Linked DNA regions of Homo sapiens: all the other regions are linked to region 1. The links are contacts of gene promoters, found by promoter capture Hi-C in blood cells and fetal thymus (Javierre and others, 2016). All regions are on one chromosome and are shown on one strand. The core of a region is centred on a gene start or on the middle of the fragment in contact, and the rest is flanking DNA. Distances in the headings are between cores, read along the strand shown.

Evidence for each region. Contacts are between HindIII fragments. The CHiCAGO score rates a contact against its expected background, and 5 or more counts as called.
Region 2: a fragment that was not itself captured here is called in contact with the fragment with the promoter of RCVRN in region 1 in 2 of 17 cell types (naive B cells and M1 macrophages); the score reaches 5.5 in naive B cells.
Region 3: a contact is called between a fragment that was not itself captured here and the fragment with the promoter of RCVRN in region 1, in 6 of 17 cell types (monocytes, M0 macrophages, naive B cells and 3 more). The highest score is 13.7, in monocytes.
Region 4: a fragment that was not itself captured here is called in contact with the fragment with the promoter of RCVRN in region 1 in 4 of 17 cell types (total B cells, naive B cells, monocytes and 1 more); the score reaches 7.8 in total B cells.
Region 5: a fragment that was not itself captured here is called in contact with the fragment with the promoter of RCVRN in region 1 in 1 of 17 cell types (naive B cells); the score reaches 5.1 in naive B cells.

What each region holds. Positions count from the first base shown.
Region 1 is chr17:9,902,123-9,907,753 of GRCh38, forward strand. It overlaps RCVRN (recoverin), which reads right to left and starts at 3,149. Exons shown (of 3, transcript NM_002903.3): 1 at 2,678-3,149. The coding sequence starts at 3,058. The HindIII fragment of the contact is 11,305 bases long and covers 1-5,631 here.
Region 2 is chr17:10,643,214-10,648,844 of GRCh38, forward strand. MYH3 (myosin heavy chain 3) reads right to left here. Exons shown (of 41, transcript NM_002470.4): 8 at 5,344-5,436; 9 at 4,150-4,213; 10 at 3,969-4,067; 11 at 2,716-2,819; 12 at 2,494-2,632; 13 at 1,371-1,489; 14 at 1,138-1,287. Among named protein-coding and RNA genes, the nearest start is that of MYH3, 11 kb to the right of the region's middle. The HindIII fragment of the contact is 241 bases long and covers 1,193-1,433 here.
Region 3 is chr17:10,622,467-10,628,097 of GRCh38, forward strand. MYHAS (myosin heavy chain gene cluster antisense RNA) reads left to right here. Exons shown (of 11, transcript NR_125367.1): 11 at 286-3,074. Among named protein-coding and RNA genes, the nearest start is that of MYH3, 32 kb to the right of the region's middle. The HindIII fragment of the contact is 7,509 bases long and covers 1-5,631 here.
Region 4 is chr17:10,595,710-10,601,340 of GRCh38, forward strand. MYHAS (myosin heavy chain gene cluster antisense RNA) reads left to right here. Exons shown (of 11, transcript NR_125367.1): 6 at 2,364-2,513. Among named protein-coding and RNA genes, the nearest start is that of MYH2, 49 kb to the left of the region's middle. The HindIII fragment of the contact is 2,266 bases long and covers 909-3,174 here.
Region 5 is chr17:10,574,050-10,579,680 of GRCh38, forward strand. The region is part of intron 3 of MYHAS (myosin heavy chain gene cluster antisense RNA); the gene reads left to right. Among named protein-coding and RNA genes, the nearest start is that of MYH2, 27 kb to the left of the region's middle. The HindIII fragment of the contact is 3,331 bases long and covers 1,857-5,187 here.

The sequences.
Region 1 (5,631 bases), core at 1,899-4,398:
CATTTCCCCCTCCTCCCTTTCCTCCTCCTTTTATTCAATGAGTATCAATTTGTAGGCTTCTGCTGGGCCCTGCATTGTTTATGCCACTCTGAAGACTTAGTCCCTGTCCCAGGCCACCCAGAGACCCCACAGCCAATCCGAGGGAGCTTTCTCTGCAGGCTGTGCCAAGATAACAATGAGAGAGACACATGCCTGCCAGAATGGGAGGCCCGAGCTGAGCATTGAGGATAAGCCCATGGACCACAAGCTGCATGCTCTGCTGTTTTATTTATGATTTCTCCTAATAACTGTGGAAGATTTTTGTGCATTTGTCATCATGCAAATGAAAGCATGATTGCCAATGCACACAAAGTTATTAACATCTAAACAATAGTCTCTACTAACAGGAATGGAATTAGAAGAATAAGGTAAGTGGCAGGGGCAGGGGGACTGAAAAAGAATAAATTAAAAAAAAATCAAATGAAGGAAATTAGAACTGGTATAATAGGAAAGAAATGGAAACAACCTAATGTCCAAAAACATAGGAATGTTCAATAATTTCCACATTTCCATAAGCCAGAATTCCAAGCAGCTATTAAAAGAGTTTTGGAAGAGGTTGGGTGCGGAAGCTCACGCCTGTAATCCCAGCACTTTGGGAGGCCGAGGCGGGCAGATCACCTGAGGTCAGGAGTTCGAGACCAGCCTGGCCAACATGGTGAAACCCCGTCTCTACTAAAATACAAAAATTAGCTGGGCAGGTGCCTGTAATCCCAGCTACTCGTGAGGCTGAGGCAGGAGAATTGCTCAAACCCAGGAGGGGGAGGTTGCAGTGAGCTGAGATCACGCCACTGCACTCCAGCCTGGGCGACAAGAGCAAAACTCTGTCTGAAGAAAAAAAAAAAGTGTTTTGGAAGAATATGTAATGATATGGAAAGCACTCATGATAAAAGAGTAACTGAAAAATGTATGATAAAAAATCGTATGTGAATATGTCATAGCTTTAACATTATTTAAAATTATATAGGTAAAAGACTGAAAAGGTATATACTGATATACTAAGAAAAGTTTTCCCTGGATGTTGGAATTAGAGGCAATTGTTAGTCTCTTTTGCCTAGGTTTCTAAATTTCATGAGTTACTTTTATATCAGATAAACCATTTTCAAGACACCTACGAGGTTAGTGGAAAAGTAATTATGGTTTTTGCCATTACTTTCACAACAAAGGATCTGACAGGAGGACAGTATGGACAGGGGAGAAGGCGTGTTGGGAACCATATGGAAGCCTGTGCGCCTCACAGGGAAACTGTCAGGAGCCGGGGAGCCACGCCGCGCGTGGGAAGCGGGGGCTCATGCGTGGTGCCATGATCCGCCCCGCGCTGGGGAGAACATGAGGACTAGAACTCAGAGTTCATGCCCCCAACTTTGACCTCTTTCTACTTTATATTAGAAGCATATTGTGTGTTTAGAATGAACAGTGATTCAACTTGAATGTGTACTGCTGAAAATTTCAAAGGACATTTTAATAAAGGAAGGAAGAAACAAAGGATGGAGAGAAAGAAAAAATGTAAATATAGTCACGTGTCGCTCAGAGACAGGAATACATTCCGAGAAACACATCTTAAGGCAACTTCTATGTGGGAACATCATAGAGCATCCTTGCACGAACACAGATGGTAGAGCCGACTACATCCCTGAGCTCCATGGTCCAGCCTTTTGCTCCTAGGCTACAAACCTGTGCAGCACGTGACTGTCCTGAATGTTGCAGGCAGTTGTCACACGATGGTAAGTATTTGTGCATCTAAACATAGCTAAACATAGAAATCATGCAGTAAAAATACAGTATAAAGATAAAAAATGGGCCGGGCACAGTGGCTCATGCCTGTAAATCCCAGCACTTTGGGAGGCTGAGGCTGGCGGATCGCTGGAGGTCGGGAGTTTGAGACCAGCCTGACCAACATGGTGAAACCCCGTCTCTACTAAAAATACAAAAATTAGCTAGGCATAGTGGTGCACACCTGTAATCCCAGCTACTCGGGAGGCTGAGACAGGAGAATTGCTTGAACTCGGGAGGCAGAGGTTGCAGTGAGCCAAGATCGCACTATTGCACTCCAGCTCTGGGCTACAGAGTGAGACTCCATCTCAAAAAAATAAAAAATAAAAAACCAAGATACAAAATGGTAGACCTGTCTAGGGCACTCACCATGAGTGGAGCTTGCAGGACTGGGAGTTGCTCTGGGTGAGTCAGTGAGTGAGTAGTGAGTGAATGTGAAGAACTAGGACATTACCGTACACAACTACAGACTTTACGGATACACTTAGGCTACACTAAATGCATTTGAAAAATAAAGTAACTGTGCTATGACGTCACTAGGCAGTAGGAATTTTTCAGCTCCATTACAATCTTATGGGACCACAGTGGTCTATATCGTCCGTTGTTGACCCAAACATCGTGAAGCCAAGCATAACATGGCTGTATTAGGAAACACTCAGATTCTGCTCCGGGAAGACAACGAAGCTGTGGGCAAGTGCCCACCCCTCTATCAATATCAGCATCTCGGAGCACCACGCTCTCAGAGCCAGTGGCCCGCATCCCCCGCTCCACCCACAGATCCACTCCCTCTGCAGCAGCTGCAGCAGGGGACCCCCAGCCCGGAGCGACCCCGGCACCGCCCAGCCAGAAGGGGAGAGGGGAGACTGACCATGACGATCTCCAGCACTTCATTCTTGCTGATGGTCCCGTTACCGTCCACGTCGTAGAGGGAGAAGGCCCACTCCAGCTTCTGGTTGGTCTTGCCCGCGGTGGTCATGTGCAGGGCGATGACGTACTCCTTGAAGTCCAGGGTGCCGTCGAGGTTGGAATCGAAGCTGCGGAACACATGCTGGGCGTAGGCCTTGGGGTCGGTGTCGGGGAAGAACTTGGCGTAGATGCTCTGGAACTGCTGCTGGGTGATGCGGCCGGTGGGACAGTCCTTCAGGAAGGACTGGTACCAGGAGCACAGCTCCTCCTCCGAGAACTTGGTGTTCAGCTGCAGCTCCTCCAGGATCTCCTTGGACAGGGCCCCACTTTTGCTGTTCCCCATGAGTGAGGAAGAGTGGGCAGCGGCTGGGGAGTCGCTGGGTGGGTGGGACGTGCGTGGTCCCCTGGCCGCAGGCTGGGCTCAAGGCTGGTGTGAGCTGAAGACCGAGATGCTGGTGGCTTAGGAGGATTTGCGACCAGTTCTTCGCAATCCTTGAAGGGAGGAGGGGCCCAGGAGCTTTGTGGAGGGCGGGAGCGGTGGGGGGGGGTGCTCCCAGAACCCTAGTGAGATTAAAATAAAGAGCCCAGGGCAGGCAGGCAATTCATCTCGGCCTCCCGGGACGATACTAGAACAGGACAGGAGGTTGGAACCCTCAGAGCTGGGGCCTCCGGCACCCCCAGCCCCAGCCCTCTAACAGCAGCCATGTTCCCTGTTTCTCTTCCTCACTAACTCTGAGCATCTCGGGGCGGGGCTGGCATCTCATATCAAGCCCTAGAATGCAATGGTTAGGAGCACAGACTCTGGGGCCAGCATGGGTTCAAGTCCCAGCTTGGCTACTTAACTAGCTGTGTGGCCCCAGGCTTGTTTCTTCACCTCTTTCCACCTGGGACACTCTTCTAAACCTTCACTGCAGTCATGTCTCTGCTTAAATGTCACCTGCTCAGCCAGGCCTATACTGACCCTCTATCTATAATAGCACAACCCCCACCATCATCGGCACGCTGCATGTCCCCTCACCGGAATGAAAGCTCCGTGAAGGATGGGATTTTGTCTGTGTTGTTCCCGGATGCATTTCCATTGCCAGAACCTGATAGGCTTGGGCCCCCAGCAAGTCTTTCTTGAATAAATGGGCATCATAGCATCTACCACACTGTCATTGTGAGGCTGATGTGAGTCAATATGTCTGACACACTTAGAAACTGGCACATGGCTAATGCTAAACACTCGTTTTGTTATTGTCCATCAGTCACAGGGAGTGAAGGTGAACTGCCTGAAGGGACCAGCAGGGGGCAGCCAGGCCTGTGTCACCTCGGGAAGGGGCTGCCAGAGAACGTGGTCACATGGGATGGTGAGATTTTTGGGTTTTTTTAAATTATTCAAGAGAAATCCAAAAATCAGAATTTTTCTTGCAATTTCCACACTTTTCAACTTTGGCAATTAATTCAAAATTTTAATGGTGGCTCACGTCTGTAATCCCAGCACTTTGGGAGACTGAGTGGGGAGATTACAAGGTTAGGAGTTCGAGACCAGCCTGGCCAACATGGTGAAACCCTGTCTCTACTAAAAATACAAAAAATTAGCCGGGCATGGTGGCAGGTGACTGTAATCCCAGCTACTTGGGAGGCTGAGGCTGGAGAATCGCTTGAACCCGGGAGGCAGAGGTTGCAGTGAGCCGAGATTGCACCATTGCACTCCAGCCTGGGTGACAAGTGTGAGACTCCATCTCAAAAAAACAAAACAAAAACAAAAACAAAAACAAAACAAAACATGGTGTGGGCCAAACACAATCTATCTGTGGGTCCATGGCAGGCTGCAGGGTGTCCGTCTGCAGTGGACTTGGAGTGAGCAGGCAAGAAAACGTGTTTGCTGAGTGAATGGATAAATAACTGAGTGGTCAGAGACGGAGCTGTGCAAAGGCAGGCTTCGCGTCTGTGCAGCTCAGCGGGGAGTATCAAGCACGAGGAAGCAACCTAGTGAGGACGCTGCACACCTGGATTCTTGTCACCCAGAAGGAAGGGAGGGTGGGCGTGCACTTTCCTTAGCGGAGCGCAGTGCTCGAGGGGACACACTCAGAACCCCAGCCTTGCCACCGTGGATGGAGAGTTGTCTCTTTTTGCCCTGGGGTGAGAATGATGAAGAATAAACCCCACGGTCTCCAGGCAGGTAAACTGGTTTTTTTTTAGACGGAGTCTCCCTCTGTCACTTAGGCTGGGCACGATCTTGGCTCACTGCAACCTCCGCCTCCTGGTTTCAAGCAATTCTCCTGTCTCAGTCCCCTGAGAAGCTGGGACTACAGGTGTCTGCCACCACGCCCAGCTAATTTTTTTTTGGTATTTTTAGTAGAGTCGAGGTTTCACCATATTGGTCAGGCTGGTCTCGTAAACTCCTGACCTCAGGTGATCCGCCCGCCTTGCATCTCAAAGTGTAAAGTGGGGATTTTAGCCTACTTACTAACAGGCTAGTGGCAGCAGAAGGTAGGTCCCTGCTGCTGGGAGAAAGCCACCTGCCAGGCCCACCTCATGTCACTCTGGAAGGACCGAGAGGTTCAGGCACCAAGGGGCAGACTCATCCCTCCCAGCCGCTCTGCCCAGTACAGTTTCAGAGATTTCTCAGGAAACCTGCATATTGGGGTGTGTGTGTGAACTTTCTAATTTTTTTCCATCACTTTGTGAGTTTTTTTTTTTTTGTTTGTTTGTTTTTTTTGTTTTTTTTTTTTTAAGACAGAGCCTCATTCTGCGCCCAGGCTGGAGTGCAATGGCACGATCTCGGCTCACTGCAACCTCTGCCTCCCAGGTTCAAGCGATTTTCCTGCCTCAGCCTCCCAAGTAGCTGGGATTACAGGCGCTCACCACCATGCCCAGCTAATTTTTGTGTTTTTAGCAGAGATGGGATTTCACCTTGTTGGTCAGGCCGGT
Region 2 (5,631 bases), core at 63-2,562, 740 kb after region 1:
GTCTGGGCATCTCTTGTGTACTTTATTTTGTAGTTACTCTTCAATGTGCCATATAGACTTCTATTTCTTCTCTACTAGACTACAAGCTCATCTGTTTTTTTCACCTGTATGTCTTGTACCTGGGAAACCTAAATATACACTTTGATGAGTGGCTATGCACTTTTTTTTTTCTTTTTTTTTTGAGACGGAGTCTTGCTCTGTCACCAGGCTGGAGTGCAATGGCACCATCTCGGCTCACTGCAACCTCCGCCTCCCAGGTTCAAATGATTCTCCTGCCTCAGCCTCCAGAGTGGCTGGAACTACAGGCGCACGCCACCACACCCATCTAATTTTTGTATTTTTAGTAGAGACGGGGTTTCACCATGTTGGCCAGGATGGTCTTGATCTCTTGACCTTGCGATCTGCCTGCCTCAGCCTCCCAAAGTGCTGGGATTACAGGCATGAGGCACCATGCCCAGCCGCGGCTATGCACGGTCTAACACAGAACCAGTGGGATATTTATAGAAAATAGTGCGTGATTAACTTATCAAATTCTCTGTATCTATTTGATGGCAGTCCCTAAATCAGTGATTGCATTTAATTTTTTTTCTTTTATCCATTTGAAAATGTCCTTTAAAATTCCACTTGATAGACATCTTCTCCTCTTTTAAAATAATACAAACCCAGCCAGGTGCGGTGGCTCATGCCTGTAATCCCAACACTTTCGGAGGCCGAGGCGGATGGATCACTTGAGGTCAGGAGTTCGAGACCAGCCTAGCCAACATGGTGAAACCCCATCTCTACTAAAAATACAAAAATTAGCCAGGCATGGTGGCACACGCCTGTAATCCCAGCTATTCAGGAGGCTGAGGCAGGAGGTTCACTTGAACTCAGGAAGAGGTTGCAGTGAGCCGAGATGGCGCCACTGCATTCTGGCCTGAGTGACAGGGTGAAACTCAGTCTCAAAAAAAAAAAACAAACAAAAAACCCTAATACAAACCCTTCCAATAAGTACCGCTCCTCTATTCCATCCACTCTCCATCTAGTTTCTTACAGGAAACTAAGACAGCCGCCATCTTGCTATCTTCCCTTTAGGATCATGAAACCAATTTCCCTCATATGAAGCCATATGAAAATATGAATATAAGTAACACAAACCTCAAAGATTTCAAAGCCTGCAATGTCCAAAACACCAATGAAGTGTTGTCTTGGAAGCTTCGTATCCAGTTGCTGGTTAATGCGAGTGACCATCCACAAGAACAACTTTTCATAAACTGATTTTGAAAGAGCATTCACAGCATGGTGAACCTATCAGGGGAAAGATCAGCTACTGGATATGAAGGAAGTGGCCAGCAGGGTCCTGCACCCTTTCCCGGCCTTGAAGCTGTTACCTGATCCACAGTTTGACCTTTGGTAACGTACTCATTCCCAACTTTCACTCTAGGAAAGCACAAAGCTTTTAGGAGGTCCGAAGAGTTCAGGCCCATCAGATAGGCTGTTTTGTCAGCCACTGGCAAGAAAACAAGGACAGTGCTTAGAAAAGTAGAAGAGCTGCTTTGAAAATCATCCAGAAGTTTCAAAGGTTGGTTAAGTTCATCTTGGTACATTGTGCATTCCCTGTGGCTAAACTGCATATACATGGCCAATGGAAGCTAAGTCACTCAGAGAATATAATGGACTTTATGAAAAGCCAGGGCTGGGTCTCAGAAAGCCCTGGTCATCCCTCACTGCATCTGAAACAAGACTATTCGAGTGATTCAGGAAAAGCGAGTGGTAACAATAGCTATGGGCATCGGAGGCCCAGAAAGGGTCATTCACTTCTCCAGATGGAAGGATTAATCGCTTCCATCCATTTTTTTTTTTTTGAGACAGTCTTACTGTGTTGCCCAGGCTGGAGTGCAGTGGCACGATCTCAGTGCACTGCAACCTCTGCCTCCTGGGTTCAAGAAACTCTCATGCCGGCAGGGCACAGTGGCTCACACCCGTAATCACAGCACTTTGGGATGCCAAGGCAGGCGAATCATTTGAGGTCAGGAGTTTGAGCCTGGCCAACATGGTGAAACCCCGTTTCTACTAAAAATACAAAAAAGTTAGCCAGGCGCGGTGGTGTGTGCCTGTAATCCCAGCTACTCGGGAGGCTGAGGCAGGAGAATCACTTGAACCCAGGCAGCAGAGGTTGCAGTGAGCTGAGATCATGCCACTGCACTCTAGCCTGGATGACAGAGCAAAACTCTGTCTGACTCTCGTGCCTCAGCCTCCTGAGTAGCTGGGATTATAGGCATGCTCCACCATGCCCAGCTAATTTTTTTTAGTAGAGATGGGGTTTCACCATGTTGGCCATGCTGGTCTCGAACTCCTGACCTCAGGTGATCTGGCCCCCTCAGCCTCCCAAAGTGCTGGGATTACAGGTGTGAGCCACTGTGCCTGGCTGGATTAATTGCTTTCAAAAGCAGTACCAAGTGACCTCAGCAGATCAGCCACCCGCTCTGGTTTGCTGTCACACTGATTTTGTACCTTCTGTGCCATCCGGCTCGGCCTGCTCCTCTCGCTGCTTCTGCTTGAACTTCATGTTCCCGTAGTGCATCACGGCTCCCGTCAGCTTGTAGAGCCCAGATTTCTCTTCTGGGGTGAAGCCCAGGATGTCAATGGCGCTCTGGCATGGAAAGGGCAGCACGTCAGTCAGTTGGCCCCAGTGATGGAGGAGGAACACCCACCCCTTCTGTTGGTTCCACTTACGTCTGTAGCCAGCAGCTCCTCTGCATCATCTATGCTGGCCACCAGGATCTCCCCCTGGCTAATGAACGGGTAGTCGTAAGGGTTGGTCGTAATAAGCAGCAGCTCTGAAATGACAAATAGTTCCAGGAGGTTATGCAGATGCAAAGAAAAAACCCACCCAGTGGACTTGAGCTCCTGCACCCTGGGCTGGAACTTTTACCGCTGGATCCTAAATTGAACTTAGAATTAAAAATCTTTTAGACAGTTCCACAATACTCAGGCTGTCATGGAAAATATAGTCCAGGGAAGACTTTTCAGTCTCCCACACAATGGAGATGAAGGACCCTAGAGAGAACCTTTAAATTCCCTTGCCTTGCACGCTAATGGTGCATATCAGTGTCGGCTGGGAGAAGTTAATAGGGAAAACTGGCTGAGTGCGGGTCAGGACGAGAGCCAACCCAGGTGGTTTGGTATAATCATAGCCTTTTCTAAAATCTGTTGAAAAGCAGCAGCCTGTTTCCAAGCTGGAGACCAGAAGGCTGAGCAAATACAGCCAAAGAGCAAAGAAGCAGTGTGCATGGAGACCTCTGTGAGGGGCAGACAAGGGGCAGTGTGCAGTGCCTCCGTGGGCTTGATTATTCTGTTTGCTTTGGCGTCGCATTTGGCCATAGGTTGTTTCTGTGCCAGAACACAAGGGGGCGCCAAAGGACAGTTAGGTGTTCAGTTGCTCAGAAGGTTTTTATAAACCAGAGCTGGTCAGGAGTGGTCTAATCTTGTTGCCCTCCATTTGATTAGGTTTTCAAATTGGCATGTCACTGCCCAGATAGCCACATCCCATTTCTAAAATAAGCTTTTCCTGGCAAAGTGCAGTGGCTCACACCTATAATCCCAGCACTGTGGGAGGCCGAGTCGGGCAAATTGCTTGAGCCCAGGAGTTCAAGACCAACCTGGGCAACATGGTGAAACCTCATCTCTACAAAAAACACAAAAGGTAGCCTGGTGTGGGGGCATGCACCTGTAGTCGCAGCCACTCGGGAGGCTGGGGCTGGAGGATTACTTGAACCCAGAAAGGTCAAGACTACAAGTGAGCTGTGCTTGTGCCACTGCACCCCAGCCTGGGCATCAGAGTGAGACCCTATCTCAAAATAAATAAATAAAATAAAATAAACTTTCCCTGTTGACTGTAGAGTCACTCTACGTAGATACAACTCTCCTTGGTCTAGTGATCAGAGTCAAACTACCTAAAAGACCAGCCCCACTGGTGACTTCCTCACCTATGAGCTCAGGCTTCTTGTTAGAAAGAATCTGGTAGAAGATGTGGTAGCTTCTTTCAGCCTTCAGCTGGAAAGTGACTCTTGATTTTTCCAGAAGATCTGGAACACAAACACAGGACTCTCTTTCAAACTGTTCCCAGTTAACTCTGAGACGCCATCGAATCCCCATGGATCTACTTACAAGTTTCAATATCTGCAGAGGCCAGCTTCCCAGTGGTTCCAAAATGGATTCGGATGAACTTGCCCTGTATGGGGCGGGATTCAGGGGGAGACCAGATTCTACCATGGCCCAATAGTTCCTATTCATCTTATGGGTAATTTGAGTAGGAGCCTAGTCCCCCTAAAATTTTTGTTTTGTTTTGTTTTGTTTTGTTATGTTTTTGAGACGGAGTCTCGCTCTGTCACCAGGCTGGAGTGCAGTGGCGTGATCTCGGCTCACTGCAACCTCTGCCTCCCGGGTTCAAGTGATTCTCCTGCCTCAGCCTCCTGAGTAGCTGGGACTACAATCACGTGCCACCACACCTGGCTAATTTCTGTATTTTTAATAGAGACGGGGTTTCACCATGTTGGCCAGGATGGTCTCGATCTCTTGACCTCGTGATCCGCCCGCCTCGGCCTCCCAAAGTGCTGGGATTACAGGCGTGAGCCACCGTGCCCAGCACCCCCTACAGTTTGAAATTAGATATGTCCTTCCTCTTCTCCCTTCTTCTTCTTCCAGTTTGGGGTTTTCCTTATTTCCTTTTATTTATCCCTTTTATTCTATGCTCATCCCCCACTTCAACGTATCTAGTCAACAAAGCAACTACAGTGATTGTTTCAAGGTGTAAATCAAACCATATCACTCCCTGGCTTATAGAATCCCTCAGTAGCTTCCTGTTACACTTCAAAAGGAATCCAAACTCCTTCTCATGGCCTGTGGCTCCCACATGACCAGGTCTCTCTCTCTTCCACCTCATCTCATGGAACTGGCCCCCCTGCCCTCCTCCCTACAACCACACAGACCCTCTGTAGGTGCCCTGACTGCACCAGGCCCTCCCCCATGTCAGGGACTGCCCTGGCCCTTCCTTCGTTCCCCCTCCTTCCTGTCATTTCAAGTTGGGCTCTTTCTCATACTGCGGCTCTCAGCTCCCGTGCCAGCCCCACAGAGAGGTCTTCCCTGCCCACCCTGCCTAAAGCAAGCCTGGCCCCCAGTTCCTCTCTTACACACGCTGTTCATTGAACTTGGTCTGAATTTATCTTTATCTGAAATGGTCTTGTTGGGTTGTTTTGTTTTTCATCATCTGTTGCCTCTGGTCTCTACACTCTTTGAGGACAGGGCTCTTGCCTATTTTGTGAGGCACAAAGCAAATTCCATCTTAACCAAACTCAGACTCACAAAACGGGAGGAGTTGTCATTCCTCACAGTCTTGGCGTTCCCAAAGGCCTCCAGCAGGGGATTGGCACTGATGATTTGATCTTCCAGAGTCCCCTAATGCAAGAAATTGAGGGAAGAAGAGGAAACATTTTTTTTTGAGATGGAGTTACACTCTTGTTGCCCAGGCTGCAGTGCAATGGCACGATCTTGGCTTACTGCAACCTCCACCTCCCGGGTTCATGTGATTCTCCTGCCTCAGCCTCCCGAGTACCTGGGACTACAGGCATGCACTACCATGCCCGGCTAATT
Region 3 (5,631 bases), core at 972-3,471, 720 kb after region 1:
GGCCAAATGGTTGGTGAACCATGTGTACCCCAGATCACCAGCTCTTCATATCACCATGCAAGCCAAAAATTCGTTTCAATTGAGCCATGACATGCAGGAAGAGACTGCCCAAAATTGCTTCTTCCTTTTTCTGTAACACTTAATATTCAAACTGTCTTTTTAACTCAGCAACACAGGATGATTTAAACTATAGACCTAGTATTAATATTTCCTTACAGAGGTGGCAACAGCCACCAAAACAAACAAACAAAAAAGCTCATGTTCATCTCCACCCCCATATTTCAGACAGTGACATGAAGGCAATGGATTCTCAGCATTACAAGGCAAGACAGAACTTGAAGGAAGAAGGCTGGGAGGAAACCAATGTTGAATGAACACTGACTCTGTGCTCAGCCCTGAGCAAGCAGTGGAATGCCCCTGGGCTGTGAGCCACGAATTCAAATCCCAGCTTGTAGAGCTGTTCTGGGGGTTAGAAGTTTGGGGTCCCTCGTTGCTGCACTCGTTCCAGGTTTGGGGCTGGCGCTGCCCTTCTGACCCCTCCCTAAAGTGGACACAGGAGAAGGAGCGGGGAGAAGAGACAGGCGGCCAGGAGACACCCTGTTGAGGGCTCCCTCTGCTTGCAACAGGACCTGCTGAGGTTGCAGCTGAAGTGCTGGTCTTCCCAGAGAAAACAACCCCTCATTCTCAAAGGATGAGAGTGAGCCCTGCGGGGCTGCATGCTCTTGGCCATGGGAGATCAACTGTGGTCACATAGAGTGTAATCAGTGTGTATTTATGGATCACTCACTACATGCAAGACCGGGACACAGCCGGGATTTACTGTGGGGCTGAAAGCAAGTCACTTAAAAAGGTAAAAATTCATGTCCTTTTAATCTACTTTTCAGCAAGGAACATCACGTCTGAATGCTCGCGGCCTCTGCCTGCCCCGTGGGATGGTGCTGGAAATTATACTCATATTTAGATAGCATTCTCTGCAAGTGGCTGCTGTTGTCCTTCCATCGTCAGCACAGGCAGATGCTGGGAGTACCCACCTTGGGGTGAGGTGGCAAGAGAGGGCCAGCTTGTATCCGCCTCGTTGTCGTCCTTCCTTCCTGACTTGACTCTCTCCTCTGTGGCCTTCTCAGGAGTGGGATGTGGTTGTGAGGAGAATGTGCACTTTACCCCTCACCAGTCCAGAGAGGGGCACATAGCCCAAACCTCTCCCCTTCCCAGAAACCTGCAAGTCCCCCTGGGTGCGCCTGTGTGATGAGGCAGGCTCCGAGAGCCACAGGCTGGTGGGCCACTAGGAAGCAGTAAAGGAAGACATTTTATGATTGTAGCTGGAGATAATGAATTGAAAAGCTGGTCTCTGTTTCTGGAAATGATGCCAGGAGGCCCTCAAAATAAACGCCCACCTGTCCTTCAGGTCTCAACACCTGTTGCTCTTGGGACAGAGATCCCAGGCCCAAAATAGGCACAGCTGCTATGGATGCTCGTCTTGCCCTCCTGGAGCTGAGACTGGGCCATGTTTGGAAATATGTCTCCCTCCATCCCCTCCTCCCATCCTCATTTGGAGCCTTAGGGCTTTAAGACGTGAGCTCTTTCCTCGCTCCCTCTCCCCAGTCTTTCTTGGGTATCTCTGCTCCTCCCATCACCTGTTCCTGGGCATGGCATAGGCAGTTGGTAAATGACAGATGAATGAATACATGTACAAGGAAACACAGATCTGAAATTTCTAGCAGCAAAGTTTGGAGCAGGAAGCTCTGGCTGGCCCTGGGCTTTTTGCTAAGGGTGTTCTGGCTTCGCGTGGCAGCACCCCTCCCCACCGGGCCTTTGCCAGGACGCTCGATCCTCTCTTCGGGCTTCTGAGCAGTGTGAATTGCAAACAGCCATGCCCACTCCCCAGGCCAAGAAAACCAAGTTCATGGCCAGGATTGCTCACAAAAAAAAAAAAAAAAAAAGAACCACTTCTGCCTTATCATTCTCTCTTTATTACCGAAATGCGGAGACAGAAAGTCAACAGAGAAAGAATTGTTTTCCCCAAGGCCACACAGATTGCTCCAACACTTGACTTTTCCTGCTAGGAACTCAATCCAAGAGATGGGCTTTCTTTTGTTCTCTGACTATAAAAGGGTGTCACCTTGTCACCATCTTCTATCACACAGGACCCCTATGGGCTTGGTTTGGTTTTGTTCTTTCATCATTATTATTTGGAAAGTTATATTTCCTTTACTGTCCTTGAGGTGTGAGGCTTCACCTCATCTTGTCTCCATATCCCTGAGTCACTAAGGAGTCCTATGTCAATGACACCTCTCCATATGCTTTACCTAAGCTGCCCCTTCTCTCAGCAAGTTCGCGCCAGGCTTCCCCATGAAGGCCACCTAAGGGTGTCTATCGTCCCCCTCCTAAATCTCCCCAGGACTTTTGAACAAGGGCCATGTCCAGTTTAATGTCACACAAAGAAGACTCATCAAAGCCCAGGAGTTGGGAGTTCTTGCTCCTCACTGCCATGGAAAGCATGAAACATCTGAGATAAAAATAATCTGTGCCATCCCCTGGCTCCGGATGGACAGCAGTTGGGGCATGAGCGCCTCCAGAATGTCTCAGCATTGCTGAGGGTAACCGGATCGCCGCTCAGATCCAGCAGGCAGCCTCAGAACCTCCCAGCTGCTGTTGTTTTTAGCACCGGGATTATTGGTAGGGGTGTAAATAGACATCTGTGTTCTGGGTGGCTCGCTCACCCCACATTCCTAGGCACACTTGTTTTATTAAAGCTCTCAGCTGTCGGGTGATCCAGGCGTGGAGAAATGAAAGGCCGCCCTCACCAGCTGGTGGTGGACTGCAAACTGCAACCAGTTTTCCCCCATAAGGACATGTTACTCCTATTAGAAACTGTGTCCCTCACATGTCCTTAAGAAGCGGGCCATCTGCCAATCATAAATCGAGATCTCAGCCGTTCCAAATAAAGAAAGAGTCTACCCTCCTTGCTGGCAGTCCTTTTATAGTTGACAGATTTTTTTTTTTAATCTTGTGCTTGGCCATGTATTTCTTGTGTAATTAAAAAATTATAAAAGGTAATAAAAAATACAAATCCACTGCTAAGAGATTTAAGACTCAATAAAAATTTCAGAAAGCCAGAGGTTTCTGGATAGTATGAGGATTACAAGGAGAAGGTTAATAAATTCCATGTCCCAACACCAGAAAAAAAGAATAAAAGAGAAAAAACAAGGCTATTTATGAAAAGGAAAAGTAATTAGAAATGGCCCTTAATGGCTGAGTGTGGTGGCTCATACCTGTAATCCCAGCACCTTGGGAGGCCGAGGCGGGTGGATCACCTAAGGTCAGAAGTTCGAGATCATTCTGGCCAACATGGTAAAACCCCGTCTCTACTAAAAATACAAAAAAATTAGCCAGGCATGGTGGCGTGTGCCTGTAGTCCCAGCTACCTGGGAGGCTGAGGCATGAGAATTGCTTGAAACCGGGTGGCAAAAGTTGCACTGAGCCAAGATCGCACCACTGCGCTCCAGCCTGGGTGACAGAGTGAGACTCCTTCTCAATAAAAATAAAAAATATAATAAGAAATGGTCCTTAATTTGGAGAGGCTCACCCAAAAAAGTGAGCCTGAAGAGAAGGCGCCCTTCATTCTTTTGCCACCCTGTTCTGGAGCCCATGTACGAAAGAGCCAGTGGATATTGCAAATGAGCTAAAGTCACCCAAGTTCCTACTGAATGGTCAAAGGTCCTATCTTAAGAGAGGCTCTCTGAGGATGGGGTGGGCTGAGGTGGTGGACAAGAGGAGGGTTATAGAGAAACACCTGGAGGACGCTAACAGAAACAGTCGATCATCAAAAAGAAAACACGAAGCACGCTTTGGGTTCTATCAGCCCAGTTTCAACACAGCTTTACCCTGTGCGCCAGCTCTTTTGAGGGATTTCGCCTGTCTATGTGGCCGGCTGCCCCGGTAGAAGGTTAGTACTTTGTAGGGTAAAGGAGTCTTAGGATCTAGAGAGAATCCAGCTCTGCCATTTTGACCTTGAACAAATCACTGAGTTTCGTCTTTTCATCTGTAAAGTGGGTGATAAGGTCCATCTCCTCATCGCCAAGTCTGTATGCTGAGGGCACGAGAGAGTGCATGCCAAGTGCACATGGGTGGAGTTCAGTAAATAGTGGCTGATCTCATCCTCCTCCTCTCCATGGTCGGAGGAGACCCCCTCTCTGGCTCGTGTGGCACGGCAGCTCCTGATTTGGAATGGAATTGGTGCTTTCATTTTTTGCTTCTTAATAACACAGCTTACATTTTCTATAGTCGTGGGCATCCTTTTTTTATGGAATAAATGAACATGGGTGACTTTGGTCATAATATTCACTCTTAGAAAATGAATCTTTTCATTTATATCCTTCACAAAATCAGAGCCTAATAGAAATAGTCACAGGTCACTTCCAGCACCAAACTCCGCACCTTCTCCTTTGTGGGAAATGTCACACTTTGCCAATAAGTGGACACAGGGGGTTCCACGGCCCCAGGTATTTTCAAGTGCAGAGGCACTCCAGTTCTGCATAAAATGCATCAGGGGCCTCTTTTATTAATTCTTTAAGTCATAAGTTCTGTAAAATAAGTTTACTTCAACGATCTCTCGCTTACTCTTCCTTTCTGGTATGTACATATTTTACCACCTTTTTTTTTTCTTTTTGAGACAGAGTCTTGCTCTGTCTCCAGGCCGGAGTGCAGTGGTGTGATCTTGGCTCACTGCAACCTCCGCCTCCTGGGTTCAAGCGATTCTCCTGCCTCAGCCTCCCGAGTAGCTGGAACTACAGGAGGGCACCACCACACCCAGCTAATTTTTGTATTTTTAGTAGAGACGGGGTTTCACCATGTTGGCCAGGATGGTCTTGATCTCTTGACCTCGTGATCTGCCCGCCTCGGCCTCCCAAAGTGCCGGGATTACAGGCGTGAGTCACTGCGTCCAGCCTTTACCATGTATTTTTAAAAGATAAGGACTATCTTAGAAAGCATAATCACAAAATCACATTATACCGTGAAATGAACAATAATCTCATGTCACCATCAATATCCAGTCAATAGTCAAATTTACCAATTGGACCGTGTGTGTGTGTGTGTGTGTGTGTGTGTGTGTCTATTTTTTAACAGCGTGTTTGTACAAAGCAGTATCCTAACAAGGTCCACACAGTGCAATTGGCGGATAGGTCCACTAAGTATCTTTTAATCTACAGGTCTCCCTTGTATTTGTTTTATATTTTTTCTTTGCAATTTATTTATTGAAAAAGCTAAATGATTTGTTGAGTTCCCCCACATCTGGAGAGAACACCCCTTGGCCTTTCATTCTCACCTGAGTCAAACTAGGTCCCCTAATCTTCTGGAATCAGACAAAGAAGGGAACTTGGCAGCTATTGCTAATAAATTTACTGATGACAATAAACAAAGGATCCCAGGCTAGAAGATGCTCTTTCTAGTAGCAAGTCAACCAGATAGTTATTTGACTTCCTGCCTTCCTTCCCTCTTAAGGTAAAGACAAGGTTATCTTGGGTCAGGGGTGGGATTTTCTGTTGTGCAGCTTTGAAATAGTGCACACTGATCTAAGATAACAGTAGTAGATTTAGACTGAGCGCTTGAAGGGGCCAGCCTCTTTTTTAT
Region 4 (5,631 bases), core at 792-3,291, 690 kb after region 1:
ATGAGCGAAAGTAGAATTGTGCCATTTGTGAGGAGGCGATCCAGAAACCAGATTTTTATCTCAAACGAGTCACAAAATGGGAAGGGATCCAAGTGTCGATTTGTTGAATTCCTGCTGGGCTACACACTGTCTGTAGCACCTAGTATACCTCATTTTATTTACATGAGCCTATCAGGTAGCTTTAATGAATTCCATTTTATAGGTGAACAAATGGAAGTTTAGTCACTAGCATATGTGTTATGCAGCTGGTAATTGCAGAATCGGGATAAGAGGCCAGGTCTAAAGGCCTATCATGTTGGGTTGTCCCCAAACAGAACACATAATAAACATTTTGAACAAATATAAGTTATTTGCTGTAAATTCACAGGATTACACCTCTGGGTAAAATACAGGGCAAGAATGTTTTGAGATGGCCCCAGCCAAGCATTGTACATCTATGATATGCTGCAAGGGAGGAGGAAACAGAACGAAGAACTTTGCCCTCCTTCAAGGCAACTAGTATCAGCTAGTGATAGTTCTCAGTCCTAGCTGAACATTGGTTCCACCTGGGGAGCTTAAAAAACTATGGAAGGCTTTGGAAGGCTGAGGCAGGGGGATTACCGGAGGTCAGGAGTTCGAGACCAGCCTGGCCACATGGTGAAATCCTGTCTCTACTAAAAATACAAAATTAGCCGGGCATGGTGGTGGATGCCTATAATCCTAGCTACTTGGGAGGCTGAGGCAGGAGAATCACTTGGATCCGGGAGGCAGAGGTTGCAGTGAGCCGAGATTGTGCTATTGCACTCCAGCCTGGGTGACAGAGTGAGACTCCATCTCAAAAACAAACAAACAAACAAACAAACTATGGACGGGAAGGGCATTGGACATAATTAGTTTTGGGTGGGACTCAGGTACCAGTACCATTATAAAGCTTTCCAGGTGATTCTAATGTGCAACCAGGGTTGAGAACCACTGAGCTAAAACCACAGAGAGGTACACGGATCAAGTGGTTTCTTTAGTTCAGTGGTTTTTAAGTCTGGTTCTTGGACCACCAGCATTAGTATCACTTGGGAACATAATAGAAATGAAAACTCATGCACTTCACCCAAGACTCACTGAATCAGAAACCCTGAAGGTGGGGCCCAGAAACTCTATCTTAAACTCTCTGGATGATTTTGTTGTACAGTAAGGTTTGAGAACCACTGCTCTCAGAACAGGCAATTCATTGAAAAGGAAAAACAAATAGCCAATAAACATATGCAAAGATGTTCAACCACTTTTAGGGAAATACAATGGAAAGTAACAATGAGGGCCAGTGCGGTGGCTCATGCCTGTAATCCCAGCACTTTGGGAGGCCGAGGCATGTGGATCACCTGAGGTCGGGAGTTCGAGACCAGCCTGACCAACATGGTGAAACCCCATCTCTACTAAAAATACAAAAAATTAGCCAGGCATGGTGGCGGGCTCCTGTAGTCTCAGCTACTTGGGAGGCTGAGGCAGGAGAATGGTTTGAACCTGGGAGGCAGAGCTTGCAGTGAGCTGAGATAGCACCACTGCACTCCAGCCTGGGCAACAGAGGGAGACTCCATCTCAAAAAAAAAAAAAAAAAAAAAATTAGCCAGGCATGGTGGTGCATGCCTGTAATCCCAGCTACTCAGGAGGCTGAGGCAGGAGAATCGCTTGAACCTGGGAGGTGGAGGTTGCAGTGAGCTGAGGTCTTGCCACTGTACTCCATCTTAGGCGACAGAGTGAGACTCTGTCTCAAAAAAAAAAAAAAGTAACAATGAGATACACTTTTTAATCTTTCAGACTGGCAAAACTTGAAATGATCGATAATATCCAGTGTGACAGTAGGAGACAGGAAAACATTTTATATACGACTAGTGGAGGGGTAAACCACCACCACTATAACAACCTTAGAGAGAATTTGTCAGTTGAATTACAGATTACACATATGTATATCCCAGGACCAGGCAATTCCCTCCTTGGCCTCCCTGCTAAAGAAACACTTATACCACCCATAATCCCAAGACTTTGGGAGATTGAGGCGGGCAGATCACTTGAGGTCAGGAGTTCCAGATCAGCCTGGCCAACATGGTGAAACCCTGTCTCTACCAAAAAATACAGAAATTAGCCAAGTGTGGTGGCACGCACCTATAGTCCCAGCTACTTGGGATGCTGAAGTGGGAGAATTGCTTGAACTCGGCAGGCAGTGGTTGCAGTGAGCCGAGATTGTGCCATTGCACTCCAACCTAGACCACAGAGTAAGATGCTATCTCAAAAACAACAGCAAAACAAACAAAAACCACATGCACGCACACACTTGTACTAGTGCATAAAATGATGAATAAAAGATATTCATATGCATCATGCTGTTTTTGCAGTGGGAAACAGCCCAAGTGTCCATCACTAGAGGAATGCCTGAGTATACTGAGGCCAGCCTTACTATAGAGTCCAAGCAGCAAGTGACAAGGATGAGGTGGCTCTACATGTGCACGTGTAGAACTGCCCCCAAGACCTTGTGAAATGCAAAGGCAAGTTGCACACACATGGATCAAATACAATTTATGGTCTACGTGAAATGTGGTGGGGGAAACATCCGGAATGGAGGTGTGGACAAAGAGACTTCAGCCTTATCTATAATTTTAAAATTTCTGCTAAGATTATTATCCAAGAATTTTTTGAGCAATAAAAAATAATTTTGGGGTGTGAAAAAAATTTCTGTGGAAATAATATACTAGATTGATGATATATTATGGTATACTTAATAATTTTTGGTCATGAAGCTCTGAGAATCTGACAAAAGTTTCCCCTCCCCCACAAAGGCACAATATGTTTGTTCAATTTGAAGGAATTTCTAGATAACCTGAAGCCCATTCATAGACCCCTTAGGGCTTCCTGACCCCAGGTTGAGAGCTTCTGGGCTGCTCAGCCTTCAAGGGTTCTAAGTGGTTTTACTCTTCTGTCCTGGGCTCCATGACCCCTTCTTTGTCGTATGTGTCTCAGAGGAGTCATAACATCTGACAGCTATTTTTATGAGCATCAGCAGCTCTTCTCCTGCAGATTAAATTTCACCAGAAGGTAGATTTTCGCTGACATCTTAATACTTGGAAAGGAGCAGATGATCCTTGAGGAGTGAGTGAATATAGCATATGGTTTGCTGAGCTGCAAACAGAAGCTGATCTATGTCAAGGAAGCTTCAAGTGTTACACATGTGCTCTTAGGCATCATCAGGTTCTGTTTTTAAGTTCTGCAGTGTCATTCTCCCCATGCACACAGACCCTTTTCAGTGTTTTCCACTTGGCTTATATATTAAAAGAAGAAGAAAATAGCAAGAAAAGATTATCTTTCCACTGTTAGATTTTTAATCGATATTCTGTTATTCCAAAATGGTGGCAGAACAAAGGTTTTTATTTGCCTTATTTTCGTCTACTTTAAACTGTCTTAAATGGCAAAGCCAGTTCTCATAAAAGTGAAACTCCTTGGTAATCTACTTTTTATTAAGTCCCAGAGCTGCCAATAGATTTATGGTTCTTAGGTAGTAAGTCTGATTAAATGTGATGTGCCTGCCATTTCCATGGATGCCTTGCACACACTGTCGACCTCATCTCTCTGTGCCCACCCAGGACCTCATTGCTGCTCACCCTGTAGCAGGTTTGAGAGAGCTCTGGACAAGTTGACTACAGGTGGATTTATTTCTCCTTTCTCTAGCCTCCCATGGATGCACTTACATTCTAAGTAGGAAAAGACAGGTCTAAATATTATATGTTATCTGAGAAATTTGGATGGTCATTCCTTTAAAAAAAAACACCATGGATTTTATTCAGTAGGGATGCAACTGGATATTCTTGAGTCTTTTCCCATCTGGAATAATAATTTCTGCAGCTGGCATTGAAGCCTGCCCCTTCATGAGCTGGTCCAACCTCTCTTTACAGGTTCATCTCTCATTGCTTTCTCCCATAAACTATTGCTCCCAGCCACACTGGCATCCTTTCCCTTATGAAAATCCCTTTCTTCTTCTGAGTCTTTACTCATGCTCTGCTAACTTGCCCTCATATGGCCCCTACCAGTTCATTTATTTTATTCGCTATCATCCAGATCCAAATCTAGATTTTTCAGAAATTTCTGACATTTCTGAAAAATCTAGATTTTCATTCGCAAGTCAACCCCATCAACAGTGCTGAGTCTCCTTTGCATGTTTGCAAAACCTTGTCTGTTGTGCTCATAAGGTACTTCTCTATGAAAGGTGGTATTGTACCTGCCCTCAGTATATGTATGTTGAGCACTTACTATATTCCAGGCATTCTTCTGGTTCCGGTGATATGAACAAGTTTTGTTCTCATGGAGCTTGTCTTCAAATATGTGAGGCAGGTCAAATAAGTACTGTACACAAATTCAATGATTCCAAAGAGTGAAGAAAATGAAGCAAGATGATGTGATAAAGCGACTAAGGAGGAGAGAGGCTGCTCAGTGAAGATCTCTTGAGAAGAACACATTTGACTTGAAATGTGTATGATAGAAGGTGTCAGTCATGCAAAAATGAGGGGAAAGAGCCTTCCAGGTAGAAGGAACAGCAAGTGCAGAGGCCCTGGGGTAGGAAGGAGCTTGGCATGTGGGTGATCATAGGTTTCCTAGATGGCAAAGGATTTTTTTAAAAGATGTCTGTATTTCTCTTACATCATCTAGCACATAATAAAGCAATCAGCTGCAAGACTCTTAGCTCCATAAGGATAGCTTTCATGCCTGTCTTCCTTCCATGACCCAGCCCAGTAATAGCACTTATAGGCACTCAAATTGATGAATGTGTGGATGGATTTTCACTGAGTAACTGAATGCCTTATCTCTGATCCGACAGCAGTTTTGCAGCAGAACCAGAATGGACAAAATAACTCCATCATCTCCTACATGCTAGTCTGTGCTGAGCCAGCTTCTCTCAAATATCTGTCTCCAAGGTTTGGTGTCACCATTCATTGAATGAAGTAAGAACAGGGCACTTCCCTTCCGGAGGAACGTTGTACAGTTAAGTGCAATCGCATATAGGAAATGGTTGGAACTTTTGGAAGCAGCTCAGTAATTTCAGACAATTCCTACAGCATGGCTCAGCAGGCAGGAAGCCAGAAGTCATTGTATATTAAACTTTACCCATGCAACAGTGGGAATGCAGTGTGACCAGTCCCTGTCCTCGCCACTGTGGGATTTCCAAGGCTGGCACCTCTTTTAAGCTTTTGGAATGTAGATAAAGCATTCCATCATGTTAGCGGGCCCTCTTTTACCTCTCCTGCTGCCGAGTTTATTGTTGTACTAATTCCAGGGCTCCCATCTGGCTCTTCTCTTGCATTCTCCCATGGAGAAGCCTGTGTTAAACTCATTCAAAGTAATCCCTACTGGCATGGTGTTTTTAGCGTATGGAAGAGACTGTCCATTCATAGAAGCAATAATGTGGTAAGATCACTTTTCAAGAGTATCAGTTTTAATAAAGAATAGAATCAAAAGGTTTCTTAAAGTCATGAACCTCCACAAAACATCCCCACCTCCTCAAAACAAAAAAGAGAGTTGAAACTTCATGCCTACTTTGGTTTTCAGTGGCAACGAAAGAAGCTTAAAACTACTGTAGGCCGAGCATGGTGGCTCACGCCTGCAATCCCAGTACTT
Region 5 (5,631 bases), core at 2,272-4,771, 670 kb after region 1:
TCTAGTTATTGAATTTACAAGTTTGGTGTTCTTTCATTTCTTGATTTTCCTTTGGTCCATTAATCCACAACTTGAAAACCCAGACTTGTGTCTCACCAAGTAAATTCCTACATTCCAGAAGCTGCAAAATTTGACTCAATGACAGTCTAGTGCTAGCTCAAAGGTGACTTGGGGCAGTATCTGAGCAAGCAATATGAACCTGGAAATTCAGATGCAGCAGATTTGCTGATTTGAAGAGATCATTCCAGTTTTTATAAAAATTTCATATACTTATTATTTTATGAACTAATGTACTGTCATAGTAACAAAGTTTGGACCTTCGCTGGAGGAGAAGGGGATGAGTTCAAGAAATTTTCCTATTTGTAAGCACTACTATTTGTTTGTTCTGTATCACATTGCCATGTTCTCACTTGTATGCCTCAACTGTAAATATGCATATCTGCTTTATTAGTCACGATTCTCCAAGGAGTCAAACGCACGTGTGCACACACACACACAGAGGGAAAGCGAGAGATTTATTTGAAGGAATTGGCTCACACTGTTGTGAGGCTGGCAATTTGAAATCAGCAGAGCAGGGTTAGCAGGCTGAAGAGCCAGGAAACAGTTGATGTTGTAGTCTTAAGTCCTTTGGTGACTTCAGTCTTTTGAGACCTTCAACTGATTGAATGAGGCCCTCCCACATAATAGAGAGTAATCTGCTTTACTTGAAGTCTACTGATTTAAATATTAATCGCATCCTTAAAAAATCTCTTTGGCCCGGCATGGGGGCTGCTGCCTATAATTCCAGCGCTTTGGGAGGCAAAGGTGGGAGGATAGCTTGAGCCTAGGAGTTAGAGACCAGCCTGGGCAACATAGTGAGACCCCGTCTTTACAAAATAAAAAATTTTAGCCCCAGGCATGGTGCACATGCCTGTGGTCCCAGTTACTTGGGAGGCTGAGGCAGGAGGATCACTTGAGCCTAAGAAGTTGAGGTTGCAGTGAGCTATGATTGCACCAGTGCACTCCAGACTGGGTAACAGAGCAAGACCCTGTCTCAAAAAATAAAAATAAAAATCCCTTCACAACAATGTCTAGACTGGTGCTTGACCCAAAACTGGGTACTGGGGCCTGGCCAAGTTGACCCATAAAATTAACCATCCCATCTAAGAAGTCATTACTTTACGTCTAATTGTGTCAATGTATATCATTGTCAGATCTTCCTTCAATATTGTCAAAATTCTTAATACATTGGTTTTATTTGCTTGGAAAAGTTTCGGTGATAATTGCTGAAGGACCAGGCTATTTTATAGAAAAGTTCTTTTTCTCTTGAGGCTATTGGATGTGAATAATCCTGAAGTCTTCTTCTGTAGCAAGTCATTCAAGAAATGGATTGACCTTTAAAAGAAATTTCACAGTAATTTTCCTCTGGCTTATTTTTGGCAATCAAAATAAATAGAATCACAGACTGGGGACTGGGCATGGTGGCTAACACCTGTAATCCTAGCGCTTTGGCAAGCCAGGGCAGGAGGATCACTGGAGGCCAAGAATTTGAGACCAACCTGGGCAACAAAGCAAGACCCTATTTCTACAAAAAAAAAAAAAAAAAAAAAAGAGTCAGACATGATGGCTCATGTCTGAAGTCCTAGCTACTCGGGAGGCTGAGGCAGGAGTACTGCTTGAGCCTAGCAGTTCAAGGCTGCATTGAGCCATGATTACACCACTGCACTCCAGACTGGTTGATAGAGCAAGACCTTGTCTCAAGCAAACAAACAAACAAAAAAAACAAAAACAAACAAAAAAAACTAAAGACTAGAGGGATGTTGATTCCTCTTTGAAATCTTAGGTTTATGCTTAGATGAGACACTGCAGTAGCCTGAAGCTTCATATTAGTCTATTGGCATGTGCTTTGACAAAAAGCAAACAAAACATGTAGGTAACAAAGATGAAAGATAAAATAGACCAACATCAAGAAAAATGGCATTCTGAGTTTTGATCTCAGAGAACTAGTCCCCTCTCTATGTTCCAGGAATGACAGAAAATGACATATTTCAAATACAAGTTAATTCTTTTCTTTTAGCTAAATTGTTCACGATTGAATGGTGCTTTTATACGTCAAGAAAATGATCCCTTCTCTTCCTGATCTTCTATTAAAAACAATGAGACAATTAATTTTTCCTACTGATGAATCTGATAATATGCACTGTTAAATGTGTGGAACGCAAATTTAGAGTTTCTTATACAGATCAGATACTCAGAGGGAGTATAATTCACCAAGGATTCCCCTTTGGAAAATGATGTTTAAAAGCTCAGAGAGCACTAATTAGATTAAGTACGATGATCATGAGAGAAATGTTAGATTAGAACCAAAAAGTTTTTGAAAGGGTAGAGCAATTCGGAGGAGCTAAGAGAAGATTAATGCATAAGAATTGAGTGACTGTGCTAATGACAAAAAGAACCTAAAGGGACACATTTCAAATCAGTCAATGGTAAATGGTGGAGAGGTGTGAGAGGAAAAGGGGTCAGGGCCCCTTTGACAAATATTCTCTTAGGTATTTTCTCTTAATAGAGGGTCCTTGTGGAGGAAGAGTGATCTAAAAGTTTGCATGGGTAAAGGAATACCTGTTGAATTCAGTAAGACCTTAAATGCCCAGGGGAACTCTCTGGCCTTGGCTTAGTAAGCAATAGAAGTCACTGAAGGTCTTGAGGAAAAAGGAGGGAGAAGAACGCCGTAGGTTAGAGAAGCAAATCTGGAAGTATAGTGTAGACTGTGGGAGAAGAGTTCACGCTGGCGATTAGAGGCATGTGTGAGTTTCGATTGAATGTGTGGGCAGGGCTTACAGATATGAGATGACTCTGAGATATTCTTTTTTTTTCTTTTTTTTTTTTGAGACGGAGTCTCACTGTGTCGTCCAGGCTGGAATGTAGTGGCGTGATCTTGGCTCACTGCAAGCTCTGCCTCCCAGGTTCACGCCATTCTCCTGCCTCAGCCTCCTGAGTAGCTGGGACTACAGGCGCCTGCCACCACGCCCAGCTAATTTTTTGTATTTTTAGTAGAGACGGGGTTTCACTGTGTTTGCCAGGATGGTCTCGATCTCCTGACCTTGTGATCCATCCACCTAGGCCTCCCAAAGTGCTGGGATTACAGGCTTGAGCCACCGTGCCTAGCCAACTCTGAGATATTCTAAAGGAGTGGGGGGCTTACAGAGAGGAATCATGGACAGGCTAGATGGTATCTTTGAAGTTATCTGATCCAATATACTACCCAATACGATATGTCTACATTTAACAGTCCATAGCTTACATTAGAGTTCACTCTGTGTTGGTCATTCTATGGATTTTGACTAATGTCATACATCCACCATTACAGTATCACATAGATATCAATTTCTTTTTCAGAGACAGTGTAGACTAATGCTGTATCAATGAAGGAATTTTCTTTGACTACCAGATATCTGTTTCTGTAATGTTATCAGTGGATTCCCACTGTTCTGCCAGAAGTTTTGAATGTTCTTCCTGCTTTGCAGGCAGTTTCTCCCTAAAGAACTACTGAATATTATGTCATACTCCCAACAGGGTAATATATGTGATGTGCACTGTAAAACTTTCCAAAAGTTATTAAAATACTGAGTTCCAAATGCACCTGGCCCCAAAGGTTGTGGATTTGGAGTTGTGGATCTATACTCCCTAGTATCCCCAGCAGGATCTGGGAGAGGACCTCAGAATCAAACAACTTCATATTTCTGCAGTGAAAGAATCTCTGCACATAAATACTCACACTAAGTGGGATAAAGAGAGATAAATATCTCTACACCACTTTCAGTCAAGTTTTGTTGTGAAAGGGAAAACTTATTTTCTTAAAAAAAAAAGATTTTGTCTTTTCAAAGCATTTTGGATTTCAGAATTGTAGATAAGGGATGGTGGACCTAGACAACACATGACAAAGTGATATAAATGCCACTGTAAAAAAGACTATGGCACTCCAGCCTGGGCAACAGAGTGGGACCCTGTCTCAAAAAAAAAACAAAAAAAAAAACAAAAACGGCCGGGCTCAGTGGCTCACGCCAGTAATCCCAACACTTTGGGAGGCCAAGGCAGGCGGATCACATGAGGTCAGGAGACCAGCCTGACCAACATGATGGAACCCCATCTCTACTAAAAATACAAAAATCAGCTTGGTGTGGTGGTGTGCGCCTGTAATCCCAGCTACTCAGGAGGCTGAGGCAGGAGAATCACTTGAACCTGGGAGGCGGAGGTTGCAGTGAGCTGAAATTGCACCACTACACTCCAGCCTGGGTGACAGAGTGAAACTCCATCTCAGAAAAAAAAAAAAAAGAAAAGAAAAAAAATAAAAGGCTATGGGCCCATAGAGAGGCAATTGGTTCGTATCTTTACCCCTTAGCTAAGCTGATTTTAGATAGGTCAAGAGGAAGTGATAAGGGAATGGAGCCAGTGGCATGGACTATTTGTATGAGAAATTTATGGTGGGGCGCGGTGGCTCACTCCTGTAATCCCAGGACTTTGGGAGGCCGAGGTGGGCGGATCACCTGAGGTCAGGAGTTCAAGACCAGCCTGACCAACATGGAGAAACCCCGTCTCTACTAAAAATACAAAATTAGCTGGGTGTGGTGGCACATGCCTGTAATCCCAGCTACTCGGGAGGCTGAGGCAGGAGAATCGCTTGAACCCAGGAGGCAGAGATTTCAGTGAGCAGAGATCGTACCATTGCACTCCAGCCTGGGCAACAAGAGTGAAACTCAGTCTAAAAAAATAAAAGAAAATAAACGTATTAAAATGTTTCAATTGCTATGTTTTTGTTAAAAGCACCAGGAATTCCAACTCAAAGAAGCTAAAACATTAAATGTGTCAGCTAATGTATCTGGAAGGATCAGAGAGAAGACTAGCATAAGGCAAGGCTTGATCTGGAAGCTCAGTGATACTATCAAGAGCTCAGATCCTTTTGGCCTCTCAGCTCTGCCCTGTAACTTATACTTTTAGGTGTACATGAGCAGGGAAAACAAAACTGAAGACCGTAGCTTAGGCCATATGCCCCATCCATCCCTGGAGGTAACAAGAGGAAAGTCACCTTCCTTGGGACTGTATAGATGCCCAAACAGAAATCTGAGGGTATTGAGAAGGGGGAAGAGGGATTGGCTGGTGCAGAGGGAAGCATTTGACAAAGACAAGGGGAGAAGCCATTGAAAGGAGGTAAGCTTTTAATGTTTGTTTTAGATAGAGAGTATATGTGTGTGTTTGAGGGCAGAAAAGTGGGGATGGGGTGAGTTGAAGTCTAGAACTCATTAGAGACGTCCTGGAGGAGGAGGGGAAGAGAAAGGATTTAGACAGAGAGAGACAGTGGGTGTGTGGCTTGGTAACTAGATTGTGGCAACTGGCTCTGGTATCCTGAACTTGAACTGCCTGATAGATGAACGGGCACACCTGGTTACTCAAGGCAGTGTCTCTTGGGGATTGCTGTGGTTACAGAGCAGTTTTTTCTGTGAGGTCAAGCCACAGCTATAGCCTCAAGCTACTTGAGAGCTAAACCTATCTGTTTAATTATTGCTAAAAGGATTTTATTGTTCACTATGCACAGGCATATAAAAATGCACTTTGAGGTTATAAGATTGGGTCCCTGAACTGACCCTTTTTTGGTTT